Regions from separate parts of the Homo sapiens genome. Here regions 1, 2, 3, 4, 5 and 6 are each linked to region 7. Evidence: promoter capture Hi-C in human tissues and cell types (Jung and others, 2019). All regions are on one chromosome and are shown on one strand. Each heading gives the region's core, a stretch centred on a gene start or on the middle of the fragment in contact. The rest is flanking DNA. Distances are from core to core; before and after follow the strand shown. Region 1 overlaps LINC02250 (long intergenic non-protein coding RNA 2250). Region 2 overlaps LINC02250 (long intergenic non-protein coding RNA 2250). Region 3 overlaps LINC02250 (long intergenic non-protein coding RNA 2250). Region 4 has its middle 130 kb from the start of LINC00929. Region 5 has its middle 120 kb from the start of LINC02248. Region 6 has its middle 54 kb from the start of LINC00929. Region 7 holds the start of ATP10A (ATPase phospholipid transporting 10A (putative)).

Region 1 (2,800 bases), core at 267-2,766, 400 kb before region 7:
ATATTTATATAAGTGGAGAGAAAAAATCCAGGAGATGCTGCAGGACATAGATGAAGGAACTGGGTTTTTCATTCTTTGGTAACATTTATTGCTTTCTCTAAAAAGTAAGATTAAATAAAAAGACAAAAATGTATTTATAATAACTCTGAATTTTAAACCGACATTACCAACATAAAGAGTGAGGAGTTGGAGTTATTTGAAAGTGTACTAAGATTCTTTCTTCACTGGGAGTGAAAGAGACATAGATGTCAATATCCCCCCTCCCCCGCAAAAAAAAGGAAGACAAATTAAATGATGGAAAAAGTGGGAGAGAACTGAAATAGTAAACTAAGATTGTAAAAATGGGTTTTGAGATTCCCTAAAAGCACACTGTAAGATGAGAATACTTGTATAAATGTTTTACTAAAGAAATGCTCCCAGGGGAAACTGGTAATGGAGTGGGTGAAACAGAACATGGACAGGAACAAAGCGAAGCAAGGCACAACCTCATGAACATGCAGTGGTGGCTTCGGGTGACCTGGAAGAGCAACTCTGGAGTGTGTGTTTATGGCTTCTATGTTCTCACCCCCATCATTCACTGATGAATTCTTCCTGGGTACCTCCAGAGGGTCTGGGGGACTAGGAGACTGAGACAGTTACTTTAAACAGTGGCAAGTGATAGCTGTAGGAAATAAAAAACTCCCTGACAGTGGGGGCTAAGCAAAAATGGCTGAAAAGGATCCACAAGAATCTGGGCAGATCCATTATCCACTAACCAGATCCAAATACATCAGTACTGTCAATATATGTAAATGAAGGAAACCTACAGTCAAAAAAACATGAACATGCAAAAGTTGAAACTATAAGGATGAAAGTATAAGGATGTCAAACACCAACCTTTTCTCATTATGTAGTGATCCCTTCCAACCCTATTAGTGCTTATGGTCTTAAGTCCTATTCTTTTTCGTATTATTAGATAGAAAAGGTCATTCAACACACCAAGTTGATACCTCTGTTTTAAACATGTGTGTACTTAACAAAATAGCTTCAAAATATTTTAAACTGGTGATTCAATAATACAGAATAACAAGGTAAACGGTTAAGTTGAAAGAAAAATTTCCAAAGCGTAATACGTATGAAACTATAAAAGAACAGATTACAATGTGTTTATAGCTGGGACTTCTCCTGGTACTCAAAGTATTAAATTCTGTTGTAAAGAGGTGAAATGTCTAGCTCCCAAATGATTAGATGTTAAATTTATTTCTTCATAATATGAAATTATTTTCAGTGTTGAACAAGACCAGGGAAGCCGTTCATAATATACTGAAAGCTTTAAAAACAACTGATAAAAACCACAAAACTCATTTTGTATAAAACTTAAAAACTACAAGGCCTCATTTTTGTAAATATAGTTAGAATATGCATGTAAATTAAAAACAAAAAATATTGACTAAATTATAGAAAATAAAATAATACACAACTTTATAACTTTTGAAAATATATAAAAATTATAACAAATGTTTTAAAAATAGACTATCATTATTAAAGAGATTGAAGCAATGGTTAACAATATTCACACAAAAAAATTAGGGTCAAATGGTTTTATAGCTTAGTTTTACAGGTGGCAAAGACATTATAAAAAAATTATCAGCTCACTTTACTCACTGATATAGATGCAATAATCCTAAATAAATACAAGCAACTCAAATCTAACAAAGGATACAAAAGGTAATATGCTATGACTAATTTGAGTTTATTTCAGCTATGTAAGGATGATTTAATATTAAATCTGTAAATATAGTTTACTGCACTAACATGAAAGGGGGAAAAAGCTGGGCATGATAGCGTGTACTTGTGGTCCCAACTACTCAGGAGGCTGAGGCAGGAGGATCACTTGAGCCCAGGAGTTGGAGGCTGGAGTGAGCTATAATCACACCACTGCACTTCAGCCTGGGTGATAGAGCAAAACTCCGTCTCTTTTTTTTTTTTAATTTTTTTTAATTTTATTATTATTATACTTTAAGTTTTAGGGTACATGTGCACAATGTGCAGGTTAGTTACATAGGTATACATGTGCCATGCTGGTGTGCTGCACCCATTAACTCGTCATTTAGCATTAGGTATATCTCTTAATGCTATCTGCTATCCCTCCCCCCTCCTCCCACCCCACAACAGTCCCCAGAGTGTGATGTTCCCCTTCCTGTGTCCATGTGTTCTCATTGTTCAATTCCCACCTATGAGTGAGAATATGTGGTGTTTGGTTTTTTGTTCTTGCGATAGTTTACTGAGAATGATGATTTCCAATTTCATCCATGTCCCTACAAAGGACATGAACTCATCATTTTTTATGGCTGCATAGTATTCCATGGTGTATATGTGCCACATTTTCTTAATCCAGTCTATCATTGTTGGACATTTGGGTTGGTTCCAAGTCTTTGCTATTGTGAATAGAGCCGCAATAAACATACGTGTGCATGTGTCTTTATAGCAGCATGATTTATAGTCCTTTGGGTATATACCCAGTAATGGGATGGCTGGGTCAAATGGTATTTCTAGTTCTAGATCCCTGAGGAATCACCACACTGACTTCCACAATGGTTGAACTAGTTTACAGTCCCACCAACAGTGTAAAAGTGTTCCTATTTCTCCACATCCTCTCCAGCACCTGTTGTTTCCTGACTTTTTAATGACTGCCACTCTAACTGGTGTGAGATGGTATCTCATTGTGGTTTTGATTTGCATTTCTCTGATGGCCAGTGATGGTGAGCATTTTTTCATGTGTTTTTTGGCTGCATTAATGTCTTCTTTTGAGAAGTGTCTG
Region 2 (2,700 bases), core at 22-2,521, 290 kb before region 7:
AAGCAGGTTAATTTTTAAAGACCTTTATTTTCCTGGCTTCATTTTATTTTTAAGAAGAGAATTAGGAATCTTTTCTAGTTAAAAAACATCTGCCCTTGCCATTCTGTATACTTATGGCCAGATCCCGGATGCTGCTTTATCAGTTTGTGTTCTCTGCCTCGTTGTTTTAGGCTTGCATTTTCCTTATTTCACTAAGGGTCAAGACTATCGCAATAAGGGAGAGAGACAGAACTCAACTCCAAGTACAGCAATGACATCTGGGGATTTGTAGCCAACGGGCAAGGAGACAGGATCAATGGATGAAAAATTACTAAGAGGAATTTGATGAGTTGTCAAAGGTGGGGATTGAAACTGGGCTTAGCAGGCCAAGGACAAGGCTTAGTTAAGAAGAGGGTTCCAGGAGCCTGGCTAGGAGGGAGTCCTTATCAAAATTCAGTGACAAAAGAAGCTTGGTATGCTAGAGAACAGTTCATGTGGCATTTAACTCAGGAACTCTGACATGAACTAGACTATTGTGATCAGGGGAGGAGGCATAAGAAAGGGGCTGCACAGATGTCCTTGAAATGTAGGGTCAGGGGAGTCAGGAAGGCCAGAGAGAGACATCACCTGCTGGAGCCCTTGACCGTCCCTGCAGGGGCGAGAACTGTAGCCTGAAGAGGCAAAAGACAGATGGGTGGACTGTGTTTTAACATGGAAATGGCTCCTTTTGATCTGGCTGGGCTACCAACGTGTAACAATGGAAAGGAACAACAAGGCATCAGGCATGAATGTGATTGGTGAGCCCAAGGCCGACCCACAGAAGCCCTGTGGGCAGTGCCCTGTGTGTTTTTGAGAGCTGTGTCAGCTCCGTGGAGGAAGCAGGAGCTTGCAGGCTCATCCCCAATCTGTGTCTTGGAGGATGAGGGCATCCAACCTGCCTCCTGCATGGGCGAGTGCCAGGGCATAGCCTGCTTGAGGGCAGGTGAGGTCGTCGGGATGAGAGAGTCATTTTTATGGCCCTAAATTCCACGACTAAATGTATTCTCATTATACATTTATGCTTTTTAGAGAGCACGTCACAGAATTGAGCTCATTTTAAGCAAGGTTTCCACATGTTTACATATATTTCTGAAGCTAGATGGAAAGAAAAGACATATGGGGGAATTCCAAAAGTGGCTTCTGCATGCTGCCCATTGAACGTTTGCTCAGGAACACTGCACTGATAGTATCGTGGGTGGAGCCAACAGTTATCCCAGGAGAAGGCAGAGCCTGGCGACCCTGACCCTGGGACCCTGGCACAGGCCTGAACACTGGCACCCATGTATGGAAGGTGGAAAATGCTTCCAGGTGCCTTTTGAGTTCCAGATGCCATTGAAGACAGCAGAGAGGCTCAACCCAGCCAGTAGACCTTCTACCTTCATTGCAAGGATGCTTTTTAAATCTTTACTTAGAAAGTTCAGTTCCTTGGCTCGCACAAAGGACAATGTGAAGAACAATTGAACTGCTGAGAACATCCAGATTCGACAACATTCGGAGAGACAGTCAGTGACTGATGAGAGGAACCAGCTTATATTTCTGAAGCTTGGAGGCCTGCTGCCAGGACTCTTATTTAAAACATGCCTCAGAATAGGCCACTGTGGGCGCCAGCAAGACTAGCCTCAGAATACTTTGGAATAACCCCATGCTTTCGTGGCCAAAGCTGTATATTTTTGGATGCCAGGTTTCTATTTGAAACTTGTCACTGTGACCTGCAGACTGTGCTGGTTTGTAGCTGCTGCCAATCGCACAGTCGGTGAGTTTTTCTCCCTGAGTGAGGATCCAGAAATGCATGCCCAGCTGAGCTCCCAGCATATTGATAATCTCCTCACCCCTTGAATGAAAATGATAACAATTGCTTCAGTTAAAATGTCAGATGCTTTTGGTTAAAAATAACCACAGAAATCCTAATTTTAGCTACCTCAACCACAAAGGGGAGTGTTGGCCTGAATCACAGTCTGGAAGGAAGATCCAGTGATAGGTGTTGGGGCACAGGAAATGATTCCCCAAAATATGGCGCTTTGGCATGCGGAGTGCTTTGACAATTGAAAGGCCTCCAAAATAAGCCTTAGGGTCAAGGTTTCTCTCTGACTTTTTCCCCACCTCTTTGTCTCCCTGATACTCTTTCCTGAAGCACCAAGAGGGACTCTTCTCTAGAATTTCCTTATCTAAGAAAGCTTAAATGCAATTGTCTTAAGACTCCCTCCTTAGGAATCTCATTAAAGAAGCAGGACGATCAAGCACAGAAGAGAAAAGACTCAGAGTCCTCACTGTGCCCAGACGGACTTTTCATCTATTCTTCTAAGAGCAGCTCCAAGAGATTACCTGGGGGGCTTTACCTGCAGAATAAGACAACCTTTGTTCCTGTGCAGCTCTGACCCCACTTTCCCAGAGCATCTGCCTCCTGCCTTTGGGGTCCATTCATCTTCCCTAATGATTTCCTGCCCATCAAAAGATCATCTACATTTCCCATCACCTCCACCCCTAGGAAAGGGTAAATGAGCTTCTGTAGGGCACCGAGTAAGTGGGTGATCACTCTGTGATTGTCCCCTGTGCACATTAATACATTTGTTTGTCTTTTTTCTCTGTTAATCTGCCTTTCGTCAGTTGATTTTCAGCAAGCCTTCAGAGGGCCAAAGGGAAGTTTCTCCTTCACTCCTACATAGGCATTCCTAGCACTTTGCA
Region 3 (2,700 bases), core at 146-2,645, 360 kb before region 7:
GAATAGAGCACAGAGGATTTTTAGGGCAATGAAACTATTCTATCTGATATTATAACAGTAGAAACTTGTCATTATACACCTATCAAAACCCATATACAACACCAAGAGTGAATCTTAATGTAAACTGTGGATTTTGAGTGATGATGTGTCAATACCATTTCAACAGTAGTAACAAATGTACCATCCTGGTGGGGAATGTTGGTAGTGGGGGAGTCTGTGCATGTGTGGGGTCAGAGGGTATATAGGAACTGTCTGTACTTTCTGCTTCACTTTACTGTGAACCTAAAACTGTTCCAAAAATAAAGCTTATTCATATGAAAAACCGTAAACGAAAACGAAATACACACACACACACAGGATGAACACACCCACTTGTGCGATGTCCTCTTAGTTTCTTTAGTATGCCCTCTATAGAGATTACCTGGCATGCTTTCAGTCTACCACTCACAGCCTTTACAGCCTGGAGATTATGGTAGTAAGAGGCTAACAACTATATAGCCATACCACCCTCCCATCAATTATTTAGTCAACAGGTATCTGTTGAGCATCTAATATGTGCCAGCGGTGCCTAGAGGCTGTGGGGTGGAAAATGAGTCAGCACTCTTTACAGCCCCTTGCCCACAAAGATGCGATCATCTGTGATATCATTTGGATGTTTTTTCCAATCTCATGTTGAAATGTGATTCCCAGTGTAGTAGGTGGGGCCAGGTGGGAAGTGATTGGATCATGGCGGCAAATCCCTCATGAATGGTTTAATACCATCCTCCTGGTGATAAGTGAGTTCTTGCTCAGTTAGTTCATGCACGATCTGGTTGTTTAAAAGAGTCTGGGGAGACCTACCCCTTCTCTCTCTCTTGCTCCCACTCTTGCCATGTGATGCGACTGCTCCCTTTTCCCTTCTGCCACAAATAGAAGCTTCCTGAGGTCCTCACCAGAATCAGATGCTGGCATCACTCTTCCTGCACAACCTACAGAACTGTGAGCCAGTTAAACCTCTTCTCTTTATAAATTACCCAGCCATTAAGCATTCCTCTATAGTAACACAAACAGACTAACACAGTCCACTTGGGAAATAGAATGTCACCATGCAGCTAGTAGTGAATATGATGATATTACATATTGCTACAGTTGACTGGGGACCAGGATAATGGTGAGCTACTAATTATTTGGCACAGGTGATAAGAGTATAAAGATTCGGTGCAGAAAGATTCATTTGAGCTGGAAAACCCTGAGAAAATTGGCAAGAGCAGGGGCAGCTTCACGTAGCTTCACAGCTGATCAGCTCTGTTGAGACCATCTTGAAATTCTTACTAATTTTTGAACAAAAATCCTCATATTTTTATTTTGCACTGGACTCCCCAAATTAAGACCCCTCCTTTCCAGGAAGGAAATGTTTGTATGGGTCATGTCTGATTTAGAAATCATAATTGATACCACTTATTGTGCATTTTTAAGTACCAGGAAGGATCTTAGGTGCTGAGACCTTATCTCCTCTAACCCACACAAAGGAGAGGAAAACCAAGTTTCAGATAGGTCACCTGATCTCACCCAGTTTGTGGGGCAGGCAAGATTCAAACCCAAGCTCTTTTCTTTTATTTCTGATTCATTCTTTCCAGATTTTTATATCAGTTATTTAAATTCATGGTTCATACTTTGAAATGATTTTTAATTAATTAATTAATTTTTTTTGAGGCAGAGTCTCACTCTGTGGCCCAGGCTAGAGTACAGTGGTGCAATCTCATGGCTCATTGCAGCCTCAACATCTTTGGCTCAAGCAATCTTCCTGCCTCAGCTCCCCAAGTAGCTAGGACTACGGGTGTGCACCACCACACCCAGCTAATTTTTACTTTTTTTGTGTGGAGAATGTGGCCTCACTATGTTTCTCAGGCTGGTCTCGAACTCCTGGCCTCAAGCAATCCTCTGACCTCAGCTTCCCAAAGTGCTGGGATTACAGTTGTGAGCTATCATGCCCAGCCTTGAAATGACTAAGATGTTTGAGAGGAATAAACCAGCTCACCTCTGTGAATAGTTTAGTTCAGCAGTTCCTAAACATTTTCAGTTCACAGCACCCTTAATGTCTTAGTAATCTTATTCACAGGGCCCTGAGGCCACATGAAATACCTAACAGTTCTATTTATGACCTTGTTGGGTCCAACTACCTTAATAAGTATTTATGTCCTAACAACTTAGGAGCTGGGTAAAAAATAATATGTACAAATTGGAAGAAAATAAATCATATTTTATTGTAATATTAAATAACCACAATTATTTACTAATGATATGTAGGTGCATCAGTTGGGCACTAGCAATATGTAAAACCTTGGAATTAGATAGGACATATCACTTTTTCCCCCACAACTATCACAACAGTCACCAAAAACCAAGCTTTGCAAAGATATGACATCATGGAAGGAAATTTAGCAACCTAATGTTAAAACCAATTTACCTGGAGCTAGCAGTTCCTGAGATGTCCGACAGGCATCCTTGTGTTCTCCTCAAGTATTTAAAAATACCCAGGCACTTCTGCGAGTCCCTTGAGGTGCCTGCCCCTCTGCCTGTTTATGCAAAGCAATGTCCGCTTGCTGGTGGACAGGTCCAGGCAGTGCTTTTTCCTCTGCGCGATATTAGATATGCAGAAAATCATGGATAGGAAGTGCCAAGGAAAAAACGGGGGATAAAAATAGAATGAACCAAAAAAGG
Region 4 (2,700 bases), core at 33-2,532, 380 kb after region 7:
AAACTGACATTCTATACCCAATGGACAGTAACTCCTCATTTCCTCCCTCCCCACATCCCCTATCAAAGTGCATTCTACTTTTTGTCTCTATGATTTTGCTTAGGTACCTCATATAAGTGGAATCATATAATGTTTGTCTTTTTGTGACTAGCTTATTTCACTTTGCAAAATGTCTTCAAGCTTCATCCATGCTGTAGTGTATACCAGAAATTCTTTACATATTAAGGCTGAATAATATTTCATTATACATATATACCACATTGCCTATCCATTCATCTGTCATAATCACTTGGGTTGCTTCCGTGTTATGGCTACTATGAATAATACTTCTATGAATATTGGTATACAAATGTCTTTAAGATTCTGCTTTCAATTCTTTTGTGTATATATATGATAGTGGAATTACTGGATCATATAGTAGTTCTTCAAATTTTTGATGCACTGACATACTGTTTTCCATGGTGGCTGTATCATTTTACATTCCCACCAACAGTGCACAAAGGTTGCAATTTCTCCACATCTTCATCATCATTTATTTTCTGTTTCTTGATAGGAGCCATCCCAAGTGGTGTGTGGTGGTATCTAGTTGTAGTTTTGATTTGCATATCTTTAATTATTAGTGATGTTGAACATCTTCTCATGTGTTTATTGGCCATTTGTATCTCTTCTTGGGAGAAATGTCTATTCAAGTCCTTTGTCAATTTTTTTTTTTTTTTTTTTTGAGACGGAGTCTCGCTCTGTTGCCCAGGCTGGAGTACAGTGGTACGATCTCAGCTCACTGTAAGCTCCACCTCCCGGGTTCACGCAATTCTCCTGCCTCAGCCTCCCGAGTAGCTGGGACTACAGGCACCCGCCACCACGCCTGGCTAATTTTTTTGTATTTTTAATAGAGACAGGGTTTCACCGTGTTAGCCAGGATGGTCTCGATCTCCTGACCTCGTGATCCACCCGCCTCACCCTTCCAAAGCGCTGGGATTACAGGCGTGAGCCACCACACCCAGCCTCCTTTGTTAATTTTTAAATTGAGTTGGTTGGTTGGTTGGTTTTTTGTGGTTGAATTTTAGGAGTTCTGTATACATTCTGGATATTGATTTCTTACTAGATATATGCTTTGCAAATATCTTCCCCCATTCTGTGGGTTGCCTGATTATTCTCTTGATGTTATACGTTAATGCACAAGTTAAAAAAAATTCATGAAGTCTCATTTGTTTATTTTTTCTTTGGTTGTCTGTTCTTTATCTTGATGTCTTATCCAAGAAATCACTGCCATCTTCAATGTAGTGGTTTTCACCCTATGTTTTCTTCTAAGTTTTTACTTTTAGTTTTCATATTTAGATCTTTGATCCATTTTAAGTTTATTTTTGTACATAGTGTTAGGTAGGGGTCCACCTTCATTCCTTTACAGGTGAACATCCAGTATTCCCAGTATCATTTGTTGCAAAGACTGCGCTTTCTCCATTGAATAGTCTACGCACTTGTCAAATATCATTTGATCATACATGTGAGGGTTTACTTCTGGGCTTTGTGTTCTATTCCATTAACCTATATGTCTATTTTTATCCCAGTTCCACACCATTTTAAGTAGCTTTGTAGTAAGTTTTGAAATCAGAAAGTGTGAGTCCTCCAGCTTTGTTCTTTTTCAAAATTGTTTTGGCTATTTTGGGTCCTTTGAAATTCCATATGAATTTTAAGATGGTTTTTAAAATTTTTCTGTAAAAAATGTCTTTGGCATTTTAATAGAAATTGTATTTCATCTGTAGATCATTTTGGGTAGTATTGACATCTTAACAATATTGTTTTCCCATCCATGACCATGGAATATGTTTCTATTTATCTATGTCTTCCTTAACTTTTTTCCATAATGTTCCATAGTTTTCGCTGAACAAATCTTTGATTTCCTTGGTTAATTTAATTCCTGAGTGTATATTTTCTTTTTAATGCTGTTATAAATGGAAATGTTTCCATAATATTCTTTTTGGGTTGTTTATTATAGATATATATAAATGCAACTGATTTTTGTATTTTGACTTTCTATTCTGATAATTTGCCAAATTCATTCATTAGTTCCAGCAGTTTTTTTTTTTCAATCCTTAGGATTTTCTGCATGTAAGAATATATCGTCTGTGAACAAAGACACTTTAACTTATTTTTTTCTAATCTGGATTTTATTTATTTATTCCACCTAATTGCTCTAGCTAGAACTTCTAGTACTATGTTAAATAGAAATCATGAAGGCAGACATGATTATCTTATTCTCAATCTTAGAGGAAAAGTTTCAGTCTTTCACTATTGAGTATGATGTTCACTATGGGTTTTTCACATGTGGCTTTTATTATGTTGAGGTAGTTTTGTTCTACTTCTAGTTTGCTGAATGTTTTTCTCATAAAATGATGTTGAATTTTGTCAAACGGTTTTTCCGCATTGATTGAGATAATGATTTTTTTTCTTCTTTCTTTTAATGTGTTGTATTTTCTTTCTTGTTCAATTTTGGTATGTTGAATTATCTTTGGATTCCAGTAATAAATCCCACTTGATAATGGTAAATTGACTTTTTAATGTGCTGTTGAATTTGGTTTGCTCATATTTTGTCATGGGTTTTCTGCATAAGGGATATTGGTCTGTGGTTTTCTTTTGCAGTGTCTTTGTCTGGCTTTGTTATCACGGTAACCTGGCCTGATAGAATAAGTTAGGAAGTATTCC
Region 5 (2,700 bases), core at 45-2,544, 410 kb after region 7:
TTGCGCACAGATTGTGTTATTAATTTTTTGGTCTTAATACCAAAAGTTTAAGAGTTCTTTATACTTTAAGAAAAATAATCCTTTTGTCTATGGTATGAATTGTAAATATTTTCTCTAATCTTATTTGTCTTTTGACTTTGCTTATGTTTCTTTTTTTGCAACATTTTAAAATATAGTGAAATTACCAATCTTTGAGTTATATTTAAAAGGCTTTTCCGTTCCCAAATTACTGAGACACGCATCCGTATTTTCTTCTAGTACTAGAATGATTTCATTCTGCACTTGTATTTCTAATCCATTTGGATGTTATGTTGGTGCACTATGTTCAATAGAGATGCACAGGTTTTGTTTTCCACAGGGCTATCCATTTTTTTCCAACACCCTTTATTAACTATTTATTCTTCTCTGTGATTTGAGATGATTTGAGATGCCGAAAGGCGATCCTCACTTTCTGGTATTCACAAATTCATATATCCCTCCCTGGAGTGTGGACAGGACTTTGCTTCTAAGCAATAGAACACGGCAAGAGTGATAGGATGTCATTCATGTGATTGCATTACATGACATTATATGGCAGCGGTGGTGGGGTGCCATTCTCGTGCTTCTGTTACATTGTACGAGTCCATATGGCTGGCAGTATCTCATGCTCTAATCAGTCTCTCCATTGCTGGCTTTGAAGAAACAAGCTGCCATGTTTGAGAGGCCCACATGAGAAGGAACTGCAGGTGGTATCCGAGAGCTGAGGGCAGCCTTCAGGTAGGAACTGAAACCTGCAGTCCTGCAGACCCAAGGAAATGAATTTGGTCAACAACCTGAAGGAGCCAGGAGTTAGTTGGTTTTTCCCCAGTTAACTCCCTGAGAAGGCCACGGCCCGGATGACACATGGCTTCTATCCTACTGAGACGAGGCAGAGAGCCCAGCTAAATCATGCCTTAGGCTTCTGAACCACAGGGCTGCAGGTTTGAGTGTTGTTTTAATCTGCTAAGTTTGTCACAATTTGTTATACAGAATAGATAAATAATACACATATTTAGTCAGCCCCAAATTCCAAATGTGCTATGGATTATTTCTGGACTTTATTTCTACTGGCCTGTGTGTCTTTTAATGCATTATTAATATGATTTAATTATAGCACTTTATAATATGTCTTAATATCTGGTAGAACTAACCTTATTCATCATTATTCCTTTTCACAGTTGTCCTTGCTATTCTTGATTGCTTAATTTTCTACATAAAAGTTAAAATCAATTAGTCTGGGCCAGAGGAAAAAATGTTATTTTTATTGGAATCACATTAAAGTTTTATATTAACTTAAGGGAGAGTTGACAAGCGTATGCTCCTGAATCATTTGCTCCAGAATATATGACGTCTTGCCATGTGTTCCACTTTGTGTTTCAGGATTGCATAGGGATTCTGCCCAATTTTGGATGACCTATTAAGCTTTTTTAAAAAAGTAGGGCTAAGTGTCAAATTGTTTCTAATACCATTTTACTATCTATAGAAGTATCTGAATATGATCTATTACCATGGTAAAATACTAAGCATTTTTTAAAATTGTGACTGAGTAGCAAATATTTTAGAATAACATTTTAATATCTATGGCAGTATCTGATTATGAGTTCTATTCTTAGATCTATTAATATGGTGAAATGCATTAATACATTTTCTCATATTGAACCATCCTAAAATTCTGGAATTCTATATATTTCTAGAATTCCTTCTTCATAATGCATACTTTTAAAAATGTGCTGTGGGATTTTTCTTGTTAATATTTTATATAAAATGTTTACATTTGCATTATAAGTGAGATTAGACTGTATTTTTCTTGTGGTTCAATATTTGACAGGATTGGAATTCATGTTATAGATCAATGTAGTTTTCCTTTTCTGTGATCACAAATAATTAAAACACCTTAAGATCTTATTGTTAAAGATTCGATAGAATTCCTTTGATTCATCATCCTGACTTGGAACCTTTCTTTTCTTTTCTTTTCCTTTTGTTTTCCTTTTCCTTTTCCTTTTCTTTCCCAGTGCAGGGGAGCATGCAGCTTTTTGGATGCTTACTCTGTTTCCTCAATGAAAATTAGCCTATTAAACTTCCTATCTGGGCTGGGTGCAGTGGCCCACACCTGTAATCCCAGTACATTGGGAGGCCGAGGCGGGCAGATCGCCTGAGGTCAGGAGTTCGAGACCAGCCTGGCCAACATGATGAAACCCCATCTCTACTAAATATACAAAAGTTAGCCGGATGTGGTGGCGCATGCTGTAATCCCAGCTACTTGGGAGGCTGAGGCAGGAAAATTGCTTGAACCCAGGAGGCAGAGGTTGCAGTAAGCTGAGATTGCACCATTGCGCTCCAGCCTGGGCAACAAGAGCGAAACTCTGTCTCACAAAAAAAAAAAAAACACAAAACAAAAAAACCCAGCTTTCTAATTGGGTTTAGTTTTGATAAATTATAATTTATGTTGGGACATTTATAACTTTCCAGGCACCGCCTTTTGACTCAGCAGGACTTTAAAAAAATAGCAAAATCTCTATCTTGGTAAATTCAGTCCATCAAAATTGTGTTGTCAATTTATTGAAATTTCAATTATTGTCAAAGTTCAATTATTGAAATTATTCAAAATTGAACTTTGATAATTCTAATATTTCTACAAAAATGAGAGGAAAATGTAAAGTAGCAAATTAAAATCATTATGTA
Region 6 (2,700 bases), core at 185-2,684, 310 kb after region 7:
AACTACAATCAGGGGTGTTCAGCAATCCCATCTTGTGAGGAGGGAAATTCTATTTAGTTGGTGGATCTGAAGTCTGGTTGTTTTAATGCAAGTTCTTTTTATTCTGTGAGATGATACGTTATATATCCATTGTCACATGCTACTCTGCTAGAGTATTTAGAAATTGGAATTTTACAGCAATCTCTCTCTCGCTCTCTCTCTGGAGGAGAGTATTTGGAAACATTTGATTGAATTTCTTTTCTGGCTGACCCTATTATCTGGTAATTGCCACATTCAGCCTACTTTCTGTTTATTTTCTAACTTCCTACTACAATAAAAAGCATCACTGTTGTTATTTGTTCATGTAGTTACATTGTTATGATTATGATACTTAACATCACAGCAAAACATCTGCCTAACAGTACAATCCCCAGAAACTTCTTTAACACCTAACACTGGAAAGGACATGTCAGCCTCTTCTTTTTAAGGTCAGTGTGTTTTATCCTGTGACTTCAGGAATCCATGGCTCACTGGGGGAAGCCTGTTAAAATTTGGATTCTCAAGTCCAACATAGAGCGATCTGGTTCAGCAGGTCTGGGCTCGGGCTGCAAGGCCCACATTTTTCCAGTTTTGCATTTTGAGAGGGTCTACACCATTTTAGGTTCAGAGGGAACTTAGGACACAGAGACAAAACAACAAAGGCATCTGCACTGGTAATGAATTAGCAGGCGTCCATGCTGAGTTTGAGAAGCCAGAGAGAGGAGCACCAGGTGTTGGCCGGGAGGCTCTTGCCACACAAGGCTGAAGAGTGGATTTGGGGAAGTGTCATGTGCGCCTGGACTATGGCTAGGGAAGGGCTTTTCAGAGGATGCCGTTTGAACTGGGGCAGAGCTCAGTGGCCACAGGCAGTTGCTGAGGCAGAGTGGAGACTGTCCCTGAACCAGGAGAGGAACATGTGTTGAGCTCATGTGGACTGAGTGCTTTTACCAACAATATTTCATTTAATCCTTAGTGCAATTTGCTAAACTAGGTGGATATAATTCTTCCTATTCATAGATACAAGTATTTAGAATCAGAGGCATTCAATAACATTTTCAGGATTATGCCAAATGGGTTTTCCACTCATTAACACCTTCCACCATACCATGTTAGTCCAGTTTTGAGCCCATGGGAACCTGTAAAGCTAGGATGTGTGCTGGGGAGGCACTGGGCACAGTGGTTAGAACCTGGACAGACCTGAGCCTTTTGGCTTCCTCATTTGAAAACCAGGATGTACAATGCCTCCTTCACATGGTCATTGTGAAGATACAATAAGACAATGTCTATGAAGCCTTGTATTGTTCTCGGCATATTTTAAATGTTCAATGAATAAGAATTACTGTTCTTATATAGACAGAGACTCTGGTGATGATGGCAGGAGGTGTGGAGAATACAGCAAAAGGTTGGTTCTTTCTTCATCATTTCCAAACTGAGATTTTTGCCATCAACTCTGGAATTGAAAAGTGAAAACAGGAGCCCACGGACAGTCTCCTCTCCAGCAAGCCTTTGGACACAGCATTTAGTATTAAGAAAAATGAGTCTATCTGCCTGGTGCTTCCATCATGTGTCCCACCTGTGGAGTGCAGAGGCACCTGTAAGCTACTCTTGTCACCTATGCTTCCTGGAAACATGTAGGAAAGTGCTTCTTGTGCAGCAGGTCTTAAGGAGGTGCCATCTGAGCTGGCTAACAGGAGGCCTCTCCATCGCTCTCTCCTCTCACGTCTTCCTCTCCTCTTGTTTCCTGTCGTTTACTGTATTCCCCTTAAGGAAACCAATTTTTCACTTTTTTTCAGCTCTCTGCTGTTTACTGAAACTAACTTTTGCTTCCACTTTTATGCCTCATTTAAAAATTTAAATTTTCCCCTTTTAAAGCTTGCATGTAAATTGGTAAAAAAAAAAAAAAAAAAAAAAAATGCCCCCAAACTCTGCCACTGCCAGACAGATAAATCTGATTATATAACAATGTTAGAATTATGTCTGACTTCATAAGTCTGTGTGTAGGAAATAAATGGGGACCGGAGGGAGAAACTATTTCTAACTGTAGTCGCTTCATCCAAGAAAATTAATAAAAATGGTTATTAATTTGGAAACTTGGACCCTGAAGAAAAGATGGTAGTGATGTCTTATTAGAGAAAATGATTTGCTATTGCCATTATTCATGGGCAGCTAAAGCATGAATTTGGCATGCCTTTGTAAGCCTGCATCAATAAAATCAACAGCACTTCACATAGCATAAGTTTAGTTTTGTATTCATTCCACCTAATAATACTTTATCCCTTCTATTTTTATTGGTTCATTTGAGTCTCCCCATGCTTTGCTCTCATTAAAGTACATTAGTGACTATGGCGATGAGAGTGTAAGGGATGTGGAAGGAACACAGGATATAAATGAGACCATTTACACGCCAGGTGAGCTCTAGAGCACAGGACATGAAATAATGAAACCAGTGATTTCTACAGATTCCTCTGGAAATGATGGGGCCATTTCATTTCATTATCCGATACATAAATTTAAATGAGATCATTGTTATTATTCAGCACTCTCATTGCATGAAGGGCTATCTCTGAATGTTTTACATTTTATTGTGAAACCTTAGTCGGATGCTGCATCTTCATTGTAACCCACCATTATCTTTCTGATGATGCTCTGAGAGATTATCCTTATGGCTGAGATTTATGTGGT
Region 7 (2,700 bases), core at 11-2,510:
GCGGTGCCTGGCTCGCGGCTCATGGCTCACAGTGGAGGATGGACACTGCTGTTATTTCCCCTGCCCTGGTACCTGGGCCGTGCCAGACATATCAGCACTTGGCGGCAGTTTCACTTTGCTGCTGTCCTGAGCCGAGCTGTTAGCAGACTGAGCTTTACTGTCCTGTGCCGGCTGTTCAGAGACCACTGTGCCTGGCCGAAGACTGAGGCAGGGACTTCAGGCCAGGGGGCCAGGCTGGCTTTTCCTGCCTTTCACTTCAGGTGGGAGCGGCTGTGGATGAGGATGTCCAGCGGCCGTCGGTTTCTAGCCTTGGGATCATTCTGGCCCCGACACGGAGTGACAGGGGATCCCCACGCGTCCCCGCATCCAGGGCGCCCCTTTAGCTGCGGCGGAGGCACAGAGAGGCCTTGGCGGCGCTGTGGCTTCGGTCGGCACCGGGTCCCGCGCAGCCGGGCCCTCCACCCTGAGTGGAGCTGCCTTCTAAGCACCCAGCCCCTGCCAATCACTGTGCCCAACACCAAGTTCCCGGGGCGCCCTGCCCTGCGCCACCGCGCGCTCGCTCGCCCGCCCGCCCAACTCACCTGCTGAAGACCAGGCAGCCCAGGTGGTTGATCTTGTGGTCGGAGCGGTGGCGGCTGTAGTCCTCCCACAGGTCCCTGAAGGCCGTGATGGCCAGGATGAAGAGCACCGGCGCCAGTGCCAGGCCGGGCTGGAAGGCGTTCACCGCCGGCACGAAGTTGAGCAGCGCGATGAAGACAAAGTACACGTTGGCCGGGCGGTGGAACTGCTCGAACAGGTTCTTGGGCAGGAAGGACAGCAGCGTGTACTTGGTAGTCTTGAGCCGGTTGTCGGCCAGGTGCTGGGCACACCCGCGCCGCCGTCGCCGCTCGCCCTTGGCCGCGCCAGCCGCAGGGTCCTCGGCGCCCGGGGGCGGCAGCAGGTTGGAGCGCACCGTGCGCGTCCTGCCCTCTCGGCGCCTCCGCCGTCCCGGAGGCCCGGGCTCCTCGGTCCCCGCCGGCTCCCGCTCCATGGCCGCGTGTCGCCGCGCCCGGCTCCTCCGCCGCTCACGCCCGCCCGCGCCGGCCTCTTAGGTTATCATCACTCGCGGCCCGGGCGCGGCGGTGCGAGCTCCCCGCCTGCGGGACGCACGGAGACCGCGGTCAGCGCGCCGCCTGGCCGGCCCAGCGCGCCCAGCCCGCGCCCAGCCCCGTCCACTCCCGTCCAGCCCCGCCGCCCGGCCGCAGTCCCCAGGGCGCAAGCTGGGCGGGTGCCGCACAGAGCCCCCTTGTCCTCGCCGCCCGCCCCCGGCCCGGGTCGTTTCCGCCGCGGTGGCCACGGCCCCGCCCTCGTTCCGCGCCCGGACTGGGCCACGCCGGATAGCGGGAAACAAAAAAAGCCCGAGCTGGAAACTTCAGAGAGGTTTAGTTTCGTTTCCCAGAAGCATCAGTTCGGTCCCAAAACGCTGCAAACGCGCGCTGCCTGCAGTAGGAGAGAGGAAACCGCGAAGCGCGAGAAAAGGCGCCCCCGTCCCCAAGCAGCCCGCGCGCCCTTCCAGGGGCCAGACCTGCTCCATCCTGGACGGCGAAACGACCTCGGGAGACCCCGGTTAGGACCTTACTCCAGGGATCAACTGGAATCAAAATCCAAAGGATCCATGGCATCCAGTGCTCCAATTTTTAAGTCTTTTTTACGCAGGACCTCTGCTCCTGGGGAGCCCTGGGAAGGGCGATTCCGCGTTGCCTCTAAGAACTTCTTTCCTACCCCACTTCCCAGCCCCCACCACTTTCAGATTCCGTTGTTGGGCGAACTAGACCGTTTCCTTTCCACCATCATCATTACTGCCTTTCCTTCCTCTCCTAAATAAATTCTTTTTCTTTTTTCTGTTCTTTCTTCATGGAAAGGAGAAATATATCGCTATAGCAAAGACAGAATTTGGTTTGCAGGTATTTGAGTGTCTGTTTCCCTCCCTGGGAAATCATGAGGACCGAAACGCTCCTTGTGCGCTGTAGCTCTGAGGTGGCTGTCATGGCCCGGACGGCGGGGGAGGCGAGGATGGTTGTGGGGAGGCGAGGATGGTTGTGGGGAGGAGAGGGGAGCGTCAGGAGGGTGTCCCAGAAGTGTGGGGCGAAGGGCTCCCCTCCACATCATGGGGCATCCGAGAAGGGGTGGGAGAATAAGCACGGCATGGAAAAAGGAGCTGGGAGTCCCCCACGTCCGCAGTGAGACCCCACAGATGTTTCATGGCTGTGACTGTTTGCCTCCCACTCAAGAAGTACAGAGATGAGAAGCAGTTATTTCTTGCCCAGGAGGCCGTGGCTGGGCGGTTGGCCGTGGCCCCAGGCTCTTCCTGGGGGTGCCTGCTAACAAGGCACTGCCCTGGATGGACTCAAATCACGTCTTCGCCAGGACCCTGGCTTGGGGAGGCCCTCCCCTCCAGCACCCTGGCTTACCCGGCTCCAGTTATGACATTCTTACATCTCTGCCCAGTTTTGCCACCATCCACAATGTTGCCCAGAACCCAGTGTTAGAAGGTAGAGTGGTGACAGGTGTGAAGAAAATAATCCCATCCCCCAGTCACAGGGGTGGGCTTTTGACATGTAGAGGCCCAGATCAGGGAAAGGTTTGGCTGAAGTCTGCATTGTTGGGGAAAGGAGTCAGGTCTCACAGTCAACCAGCAGAAACCCAAACGGAGCATCAACT

The links. The method cuts DNA at HindIII sites, captures the fragments that hold promoters and counts their contacts. A contact is called where the count stands out against the background at its distance.
Region 1: a contact is called between a fragment that was not itself captured here and the fragment with the promoter of ATP10A in region 7, in 1 of the 25 tissues and cell types used here (IMR-90 fibroblasts).
Region 2: a fragment that was not itself captured here is called in contact with the fragment with the promoter of ATP10A in region 7 in 2 of the 25 tissues and cell types used here (IMR-90 fibroblasts and dorsolateral prefrontal cortex).
Region 3: a fragment that was not itself captured here is called in contact with the fragment with the promoter of ATP10A in region 7 in 3 of the 25 tissues and cell types used here (aorta, dorsolateral prefrontal cortex and mesendoderm cells).
Region 4: a fragment that was not itself captured here is called in contact with the fragment with the promoter of ATP10A in region 7 in 1 of the 25 tissues and cell types used here (H1 embryonic stem cells).
Region 5: a fragment that was not itself captured here is called in contact with the fragment with the promoter of ATP10A in region 7 in 1 of the 25 tissues and cell types used here (thymus).
Region 6: a fragment that was not itself captured here is called in contact with the fragment with the promoter of ATP10A in region 7 in 1 of the 25 tissues and cell types used here (H1 embryonic stem cells).

What each region holds. Positions count from the first base shown.
Region 1 is chr15:25,457,304-25,460,103 of GRCh38, forward strand. The region is part of intron 4 of LINC02250 (long intergenic non-protein coding RNA 2250); the gene reads right to left. Among named protein-coding and RNA genes, the nearest start is that of UBE3A, 20 kb to the left of the region's middle. The HindIII fragment of the contact is 5,774 bases long and covers 1-2,800 here.
Region 2 is chr15:25,567,316-25,570,015 of GRCh38, forward strand. The region is part of intron 1 of LINC02250 (long intergenic non-protein coding RNA 2250); the gene reads right to left. Among named protein-coding and RNA genes, the nearest start is that of LINC02250, 10 kb to the right of the region's middle. The HindIII fragment of the contact is 3,421 bases long and covers 1-2,700 here.
Region 3 is chr15:25,498,639-25,501,338 of GRCh38, forward strand. LINC02250 (long intergenic non-protein coding RNA 2250) reads right to left here. Exons shown (of 5, transcript NR_187215.1): 4 at 2,447-2,614. Among named protein-coding and RNA genes, the nearest start is that of UBE3A, 61 kb to the left of the region's middle. The HindIII fragment of the contact is 4,387 bases long and covers 1-2,700 here.
Region 4 is chr15:26,246,453-26,249,152 of GRCh38, forward strand. No RefSeq gene overlaps it. Among named protein-coding and RNA genes, the nearest start is that of LINC00929, 130 kb to the left of the region's middle. The HindIII fragment of the contact is 8,843 bases long and covers 1-2,700 here.
Region 5 is chr15:26,268,977-26,271,676 of GRCh38, forward strand. No RefSeq gene overlaps it. Among named protein-coding and RNA genes, the nearest start is that of LINC02248, 120 kb to the right of the region's middle. The HindIII fragment of the contact is 6,664 bases long and covers 1-2,700 here.
Region 6 is chr15:26,168,311-26,171,010 of GRCh38, forward strand. No RefSeq gene overlaps it. Among named protein-coding and RNA genes, the nearest start is that of LINC00929, 54 kb to the left of the region's middle. The HindIII fragment of the contact is 3,110 bases long and covers 1-2,700 here.
Region 7 is chr15:25,862,067-25,864,766 of GRCh38, forward strand. It overlaps ATP10A (ATPase phospholipid transporting 10A (putative)), which reads right to left and starts at 1,261. Exons shown (of 21, transcript NM_024490.4): 1 at 582-1,261. The coding sequence starts at 1,030. The HindIII fragment of the contact is 9,757 bases long and covers 1-2,700 here.